2 separate regions of the Homo sapiens genome follow, and region 2 is linked to region 1. Evidence: promoter capture Hi-C in human tissues and cell types (Jung and others, 2019). All regions are on one chromosome and are shown on one strand. The core of a region is centred on a gene start or on the middle of the fragment in contact, and the rest is flanking DNA. Distances in the headings are between cores, read along the strand shown.

What was found. Contacts are between HindIII fragments. The study calls those that stand out against the background at their distance.
Region 2: a fragment that was not itself captured here is called in contact with the fragment with the promoter of HSPA9 in region 1 in 1 of the 25 tissues and cell types used here (IMR-90 fibroblasts).

Annotation. Positions count from the first base shown.
Region 1 is chr5:138,573,479-138,577,700 of GRCh38, reverse strand. HSPA9 (heat shock protein family A (Hsp70) member 9) reads left to right here and starts at 2,300. Exons shown (of 17, transcript NM_004134.7): 1 at 2,300-2,463; 2 at 3,575-3,633; 3 at 3,851-3,938. The coding sequence starts at 2,383. All of the region lies in intron 1 of LOC105379193 (a long non-coding RNA gene), which reads right to left. RefSeq lists enhancers at 1,706-1,845, 1,423-2,071, 1,986-2,265, 2,506-2,555, 2,072-2,719. The HindIII fragment of the contact is 16,836 bases long and covers 1-4,222 here.
Region 2 is chr5:139,164,484-139,168,867 of GRCh38, reverse strand. The region is part of intron 1 of SIL1 (SIL1 nucleotide exchange factor); the gene reads left to right. Among named protein-coding and RNA genes, the nearest start is that of SIL1, 32 kb to the left of the region's middle. The HindIII fragment of the contact is 8,384 bases long and covers 1-4,384 here.

The sequences.
Region 1 (4,222 bases), core at 1,051-3,550:
CAAGGCGAAACCCCGTCTCTACGAAAAATACAAAAATTAGCCAGGCGTAGTGCCGCATGTCTGTAATCCCAGCTACTCGGGGGAGGGGGGCGCTGAGGCGGCACTGGAATCATCTGAGCCCAGAGAGGTGGAGGCTGCAGTAAGCTGAGACTGCACCACTACACTGCAGCCTGGGCGACAGAGGCTAAAGATGGAGTCTCACTCTGTCGCTCAGGCTGATCTCGAACTCCTGGGTTCAAGTGATCCTCCCACCTCGGCCTCCCAAAGTGCTGGGATTACAGGCGTGAGCCACCGCCTGGCCACCCCTGCCTTCTGAGAGAACTAAAAACAAGAGAAATGAAGTGTTAAGTAACTAGTGAGGATAATATAGTAATAGCTGACAGTTAAGAGTGTGTGGGAGGCTTTTTAAAAACTTTTAGAATCTATATAATCTATAACCCATGTTACGTTAGACTTTTGTTTATTTTCTTACTCCCACTGCCATCCTCCTCAGAATGTAAACTCTTCAGTTAGCTTCTTTCCCTCCCCAACTTTCCCCAACATTTCCTTCACAGTTCCTCACCCAGGGGTGACTACTTAATAATACAGATCTTCCTGAAGAGATAGGGGGTCTGAAACATTTCTCTTTTTTTGAAAGCGGGCTTCCAGGACAAATTGCTTCATCTCCAAAATCAAGTTCAATCTGTCATCAGCCATTCGTTCGTGTTTTGCTTTCGCTGTATTCCTACCACCTGGGAGAGTGACTGACACACGGTAGGCATGCCAAAACATATCTGTTGAATCAATTAATTCCTCTTCTTAAAAATCTAAAACTGGGTTGGGCGCGGTGGCTCACGCCTGTAATCCCAGCACTTTGGGAGGCCGAGGCAGGCAGATCACGAGGTCAGGAGATCGAGACCATCCTGGCCAACATGGTGAAACCCGGTGTCTACCAAAAATATAAAAATTAGCTGGGCGTGGTGGCGCGCGCCTGTAATCCCATCTACTTGGGAGGCTGAGGCAGGAGAATAGCTTGAACCAGGGAGTCAGAGGTTGCAGTGAGCCGAGATGGCGCCACTGCACTCAAGCCTGGCGACAAAGACTGCCTCAAAAAAAAAAACAAAAACCTAAAAACTGGTCACAGGGTAGTGAAGTAGTTGACATCCTGCCACCAGCACAAGGTTTAAAAAGGGCCAGAGGAGTCTCAAGTCAGGCCCAGCACAGTGGGGAGAGGAAGAGCCTGAAGCTCAGCTATTTTTCTTTTTTTTCTTGAGACGGAGTCTCGCTCTGTCGCCCAGGCTGGAGTGCAGTGGCGCGATCTCGGCCCACTGCAAGCTCCGCCTCCCGGGTTCACGCCGTTCTCCTGCCTCAGCCTCCCGAGTAGCTGGGACTACAAGCGCCTGCCACCACGCCCGGCTACTTTTTCGTATTTTCAGTAGAGACGGGGTTTCACCGTGTTAGCCAGGATGGTCTCGATCTCCTAACCTCGCGATCCGCTCGCTTCGGCCTCCCAAAAGTGCTGGGATTACAGGCGTGAGCGCCCGGCCAAGCTCAGCTATTTTTTTTTCCCTTTGTGCAGGCTAATTGGCCTAATGTTCTGTGTGAATCAAACGCTTCGTAGTTGGAAACCCAAGACCCCTGTGATAAAACGCAACACGAAATTGTTTAACGTCTGTCTGCATATCCAAGTGTCTTTCAAGTTGTGAACAACGGGCGGGACCAAACAACAAAAGTACTGACGTCCTCACTTCACAAAGCCACAAGACAAGATGGCGCCGTCCTCCAGGAGCGGGAGCTGGGAACACGTCCACGCCCGGGGGGTGTGCACGCGCCCGGGCTCGCCCCAGGGAACGCTGGCGTGCACTCGGGCACCCAGTGAGCGCCGCAGTTAGTCTCCACCCATGTTTTCCGCCACTCCTTGCGCACATGCGCTCTAGGTTCTTAGCTGGATGTCTGTTGCGCCAACAGGCTCCTCCTCCCGCGCAACTGACGCAAGAAGACTGTAATCGGTTCGCAATTTATCCCGTGTGACCTTGAGTCTTTCCTGTCGCCGAGGACCGGGGCTGTCCGAGATACGGCCTTCATATCCCTCTTCCTCCCCTGGACTCTTTCTGAGCTCAGAGCCGCCGCAGCCGGGACAGGAGGGCAGGCTTTCTCCAACCATCATGCTGCGGAGCATATTACCTGTACGCCCTGGCTCCGGGAGCGGCAGTCGAGTATCCTCTGGTCAGGCGGCGCGGGCGGCGCCTCAGCGGAAGAGCGGGCCTCTGGGCCGCAGTGACCAACCCCCGCCCCTCACCCCACGTGGTTGGAGGTTTCCAGAAGCGCTGCCGCCACCGCATCGCGCAGCTCTTTGCCGTCGGAGCGCTTGTTTGCTGCCTCGTACTCCTCCATTTATCCGCCATGATAAGTGCCAGCCGAGCTGCAGCAGCCCGTCTCGTGGGCGCCGCAGCCTCCCGGGGCCCTACGGCCGCCCGCCACCAGGTGAGGAACTGGGACCTTCCCGAATGGGGTCACGGCCTCGGGCCTTGGGCCTCGGGCTTCGCTGCGGCAGGCCGCGCGCCCTTTAGGGTTTGAATTCTCCAGTATAGGTCAGGCGGGAAGGAAGGTAACGGGCCTTCCATAGTTAGCGCTGCCGGGTCAAGATTTTGCCCAAGGTTTTGCCTCCGGCTTGGGCCCTGCTGAGTCACACCCCTCGCGATCTAGAGTGTCATTTCAAAATTACCAGGTAGTGGTCCTCATGGCCTGTTCTGTGGCTGAATGGAAAGGTTTGGCCTTGGGGGTGAGGGATGCAGTCTATTGGGAAAGCCACTATTTTCAGTTTTATTTTTGGCTCCTCTACAGAATACAGAGTGTGTAAGGATCCCGTTGATACGGTGAAATAAAATAAGAAAGCTCTGAGTCGGAACTCCAGTTTTCGTGCTTAGCAACATTTTCTCAAAATCTGTGGTGTAAGATTGTACTCGTTTGTTACTTCAGAAAAAAAAGCAGATCGTGGGGCGGAGAAAAGGCTATGGAGTGGTTACTTGTTTTCTAAAATAAAAGACAAATGCTTTAGAGAACAGGAATTGTATGTGGGCATTAAGGAAGGCTTGGAAGGAGCCTGAGGTTAAGTTGTAATAAAGGTCTTTTATCCTAGTGAAACGCCACTACTTTTCTTTTTTCTTTCAAAGACCCTTAGTAACTCTAGTTCTTTTAAACTAATTGCACGGCAAGGTAAGGGGAAGTGTTTTCCCCCAGGGGACATCTGGCAATGTCTGTGGATATTTTAGGTTGTCACTTACTTACTGGGGTGCTTATTGGTTTCTAGGGTGTCGAGGCCAGGGATGCTGCTGTATATCCTACAATGCACAGAACAGCCCCCACCACAAAAATTTCGCCCAAAATTAATAGCGCCACGGTTGAGAAATCCTACTGTAATGTGATTCTAAGGCCATCTTTTATTTACCTTTTTTCGTCTTACTTATTTGGGAAACTTTAATATTTACTGTTTTAGTAGCTTAATGTATTTTATATACTAAGTGAGCCCAAGTTTTCTCTTTTTCCTCCCAGGATACACACTGGTTGGTGACTGAGTCAGTTTTTTCTTTTTTAGGATAGCTGGAATGGCCTTAGTCATGAGGCTTTTAGACTTGTTTCAAGGCGGGATTATGCGTAAGTATAATATCATTTCCTTTGAGAGGGAATACATATTAAACTTCAAAGCAGTGTTTTCTACATTTGTGATTATTCTTCTCTGTAATTATTTATCTGTATTTATTTAGAGATTATGTAGTATACCACTGTTAATTTTCCAATTAAATATTATCTTCCAGTGACTTTGGTCTATCAAGATAACAATAGCTGTGACACTGTTCTAAATGTCTTACAGATCAGAAGCAATCAAGGGAGCAGTTGTTGGTATTGATTTGGGTACTACCAACTCCTGCGTGGCAGTTATGGAAGGTAAACAAGCAAAGGTGAGCATGATTGATAACTAGTACCTTATCCAGAATCTGTCCAGAATTCTGTGCTCTTTTCCTTAGTTAAGGAATTTGAGAACCTGATTTGCGCTTTTTTTTTTTTTTTTTTTTTTTTTTTGGAGACAGTCTCTATAGCCCATGGTGGAGTGCAGTGGCACGGTCTCCGCTCACTGCAACCTCTGCCTCCTGGGTTCAAACAGTTCTCCTGCCTTGGCCACATAGCTGGGATTACAGGCATGAACCACCATTCCTGGCTAATTTTTTGTATTTTCAGTAGAGAC
Region 2 (4,384 bases), core at 50-2,549, 590 kb before region 1:
ACCTCAGCCTCCAGAGTAACTGGGACTACAGACACGTGCCGTCAGGCCCACTTAATTTTTTGTAGAGATGGGGTTTTGCCATGTTGCCCAGGATGGTCTTAAACTCCTGGGTTCAAGCGATCTGCCTGTTTTGGCCTCCTATACTGGGATTACAGGTGTCAGTCACTGCGCCTTGCTTGAATGTTCTTTAATGTCTGACTCCCAAAAGGTGAAAAAGATAAATGATCAGGGGAGGAAAAAAAAAAGCATTGGCCCTTTAAATCTCCAGGAAGTCACTTCAGCCTGAGGGAAAGGGGCTTGCAACCGGGCTGGGAGGAGCAACAACAATCTCTGCTACTACTTTGTCTGCACCTCTGTAATCAGAAGCAGCAATCAGAATCAGCACAGATCCCCAGTATTTGGAAGACAGTGTTCTTTTTGTGCAAGCTGTGTGCAAGCTGCTCCAGGAACACATACACAACTACCTGCCGTGAAGTTGGGGGAAACGTAGCTGCTACTCTGCTAAGAGTTGAAATTGATAGACATTAACTGCAATTTGCCATCAAGGCCTTTCCCTGGAAGTTGCAAGGCTTCAGTTGTTTCCAGAGTTCCAAAATACAGCCATACTTCACTTAACAACAGGGATAGTTCTGAAAAATGTGTTAAGTGATTTTTGTCCTTGTGCAAACCTCATAAAGTGTACTTACATAAACCTAGATGGTATAGCCTACCACACATCTAAGCTTTATTGTATAGCCTCTTGCTCCTAGGCTAAAACCTGTACAGCTTGCTACTGTACTCAATATTATAGACAATTGTAACACAATGGTAAGCATTTATGTACCTAAACATTTCTAAACATAGAAAAGGTACAGTAAAAATGTAGTATAAAAGATAAAAAATGGTAGCTGCACACGGGTGTCACATGCCTGGAGTCCCAGCTACTTGGGAGGCTGAGGTAGGAGGATTGCTTGAGCCCAGGAGTTCAAGATCAGCCTGGGCAACAGAAGGAGACCCCAACCTATTAAAAGAGAAAAAATAAAAAGTAGTACCCCTGTACAGTGCACTTAACATGAATGGAGCTTGCAGGACTGGAAGTTGCTCTAGGTGAGTCAGTGAGTAAGTGGTCAGTGAATATGAAAGCCTAGGATGTTACTGTATACTACTGTAGACTTTATAAACACTGTACACTTAGGCTACGCTACATTTATAAAAAATTTTTTCTTCAATAATAAATGTAGCTGTAGCTTACTGTAATATTTTTACTTTATATACTTTAAAATTTAAAACTGTTGACTCATAATAACAGCTTAAACAAATGCATATTGTACAACGGCACAAAAATATTTATACATTATTCTGTAAGCATTTTTCTATTAGCAGTTTTTAATTTTACTTTTTAAACTTTTTTTGTTAAAAATAAAGACAAAAATACATTAGCCTAGGTCTACACAGGGTCAGGATCATTAACATCACTGTCTTCTATCTTCACATTTAGTCCCACTGGAAGGTCTTCAGGGGCAATCACACACTTGGAACTGTCATTTCCTGTGATAATAGTGCCTTCTGGAAAGACCTGCTTGAGGCTGGTTTACAGTTAACTTTGTTTTTCTTTTAAAGCCACTCCTTGGCTGGGTACTGTGGCTCACGCCTGTAATTTCAGCACTTTGGGAGGCTGAGGCGGGGGGTGGGGGTTACTTGAGCCCAGGAGTTCAGGATCAGCCTGGGCAACATGGCGAAACCGTGTTAGTAGTCTCTACTAAAAATACAAGACAAAGGCTGGGCGCGGTGGCTCACGCCTGTAATCTCAGCACTTTGGGAGGCTGAGGCGGGTGGATCACAAGGTCAGGAGATCGAGACCATCCTGGCTAACACGGTGAAACCCCGTCTCTACTAAAAATACAAAAAAATAATTAGCCGGGCGTGGTGGTGGGTGCCTGTATTCCCAGCTACTTGGGAGGCTGAGGCAGGAGAATGGTATGCACTTGGGAGGCAGAGCTTGCAGTGAGCTGAGATTGTGCCACTGCACTCCAGCCTGGGCGACAGAGTGAGACTCTGTCTCAAAAAAAACAAAAACATTGCCAGGTGTGCTGGTGTGTGCCTGTAGTGCCCGTTACTTAGGAGGATGAGGTGGGAAAATCACCTGAGCCTGGAAAGTTGAGGCTCCAGTGAGCTGCTATCATGCCACCGCACTCCAGCCTGGGCTATGGGAATGAGATCCTGTCTCAGGAAAAAGAAAAAAAGTCACTCCTTGCCCAGGCTGTAATGCAATGGCATGATGATAGCCCACTGCAACCCCAAATTCCTTGGCTCAAGCAGTCCTCCTGCCTCAGCCTTCCAAGTAGCTGGGACTACAGGTACTCATCACCACGCCTATTTTTGTATTTTTTGTAAGGACAGGATCTTGCTATATTGCTCAGGCTGATCTTGAACTTGTGGCCTCAAGGGATCCTCCTGTCTTGACCTTCTAAAGCTCTGGGATTGCAGGCATGAGCCACTATGCCTGGCCCCTCTTAAAAAATAAGTAGAATGAGTACCCTCTAAAATAGCAATAAGAAGTATTTAATGGTAAATACTAGGTGATAGGAATGTTTCAGCTCCATTGTCATCTTATGAGACCACTGTCGTATAAGTGGTCTGTTGTTGACTGAAATGTGCAGCACATGACTCTGATTTATATCAGACAAATTCTGTCAGTGCAGTTGTTGTCTAGTTAGGGAGACAGATTTCTGTGCTGTTGACGAAGAGTTAGACTCTGTAAAATATTTTTTAGAGACTTATTCTGAGCCAAACCTGAGTGACCATGGCCCATGACATAGCCCTCAGGAGGTCCTGAGAACATGTGCCCAAGGTGTTCGGGGTACAGCTTGGTTTTATATATTTCAGGGAGGCACAAGACATCAATCAAATACATTTAAGAAATACAGGCCAGGCGTGGTGGCTCAGGCCTGTAATCCCAGCACTTTGGGAGGCCTAGGTGGGCGGATCTTGAGGTCAGGAGATCGAGACCATCCTGGCTAACACGGTGAAACTCCATCTCTACTAAAAAATAATAAAAAAAAATTAGCCGGGCATGGTGGGCATGTACCTGTAGCCCCAGCTACTCAGGAGTCTGAGGCAGGAGAATCACTTGAACACAGGAAGCGGAGGTTGCAGTAAACCGAGATCGTGTCACTGTATTCCAGCCTGGTGACAGGGTGAGACCCCGTCTCAAAAAATAATAATAATAAAAATAATAAAAAAGACAGACATTGGTTTGGCCTGTAATCCCAGCAATTTGGGAGGCTAAGGTGGGCGGATCACCTGAGGTCAGGAGTTCAAGACCAGCCTGGCTAACATGGTGAAACCCTGTTTCTACTAAAAATACAAAAAATTAGCCAGGTGTGGTGGCATGTGCCTGTAATCCCAGCTAGTCGGGAGGCTGAGGCATGAGAATTGCTTGAACCTGGGAGGTGGAGGTTGCAGTGAGCCGAGATCACACATTTGTGCTCCAGCTTGGGCAACAAGAATGAAACTCCATCTCAAAAAAACAAACAAACAAGAAATACATTGGTTTGGTTCAGAAAGGTGGGACAACTCAAAGTGGGGGCTTCCAGGCTATAGGTAAATTTAAACATTTTCTGGCTGACGGTTGAGTTTATCTGAAGATCTGGGATCAATAGAAAGGAAATGTTTAGGTTAACATAAAGGATTGTGGAGACCAAGTTTTATTGTGCAGAGGAAGCTCTCAGGTAGCACACTTCAGAGAGAGCAGGTTGTAAAATGTTTCTTATCGGACCTAAAAGAATGCGTGACTCTTAGTTGATTATCTCCTGGATCTGGAAAGGAAGGAAGGAAGAAAGGAAAACAAGGGGGTAGGGGATTCTCTATAGAATATGTGGATTTTTCCCACAAGGGATCACTTTGCAGGGCCATTCAAGATATGGCAGAGAAACATGTTTTGGGGTAAAATATTTTTATTTTCTTCCTTGTTATGCCAGAGTCAGATTGGAAAGTAAGTCTCAATATACATGGTTAAATAAAACCCATCTGATGAGAATTTACTGTTTGTAGGACATGACTCCCCAGACCTTTTAGATAGGAATTTGGGCCAGATAAAATCAGAGTTTAGTCCTCATTGCTTTCTACTCTACCATCTTCCCACCTCTTCCTTACTAGCTTTTGGACTTTGTTCTTATTACTTCTGTGACTTAGTTTCTTCATCTGAATAAGTGTGTACTGATACCCACCTCCTAGGGCAGTTAGGATGAAATGAAATAATGGAGGTCATGTGCTTGGCACATGGTAGGTGCTCAATGAATGGTGAAGATTGTAATGCCTTTAAAGAGCTCAAGTTTCATTAGGGACAGAACCCATGGGCCCGACCCTAGGGGCTGAGAGAGGCTGACTAACGACATGGGGACAG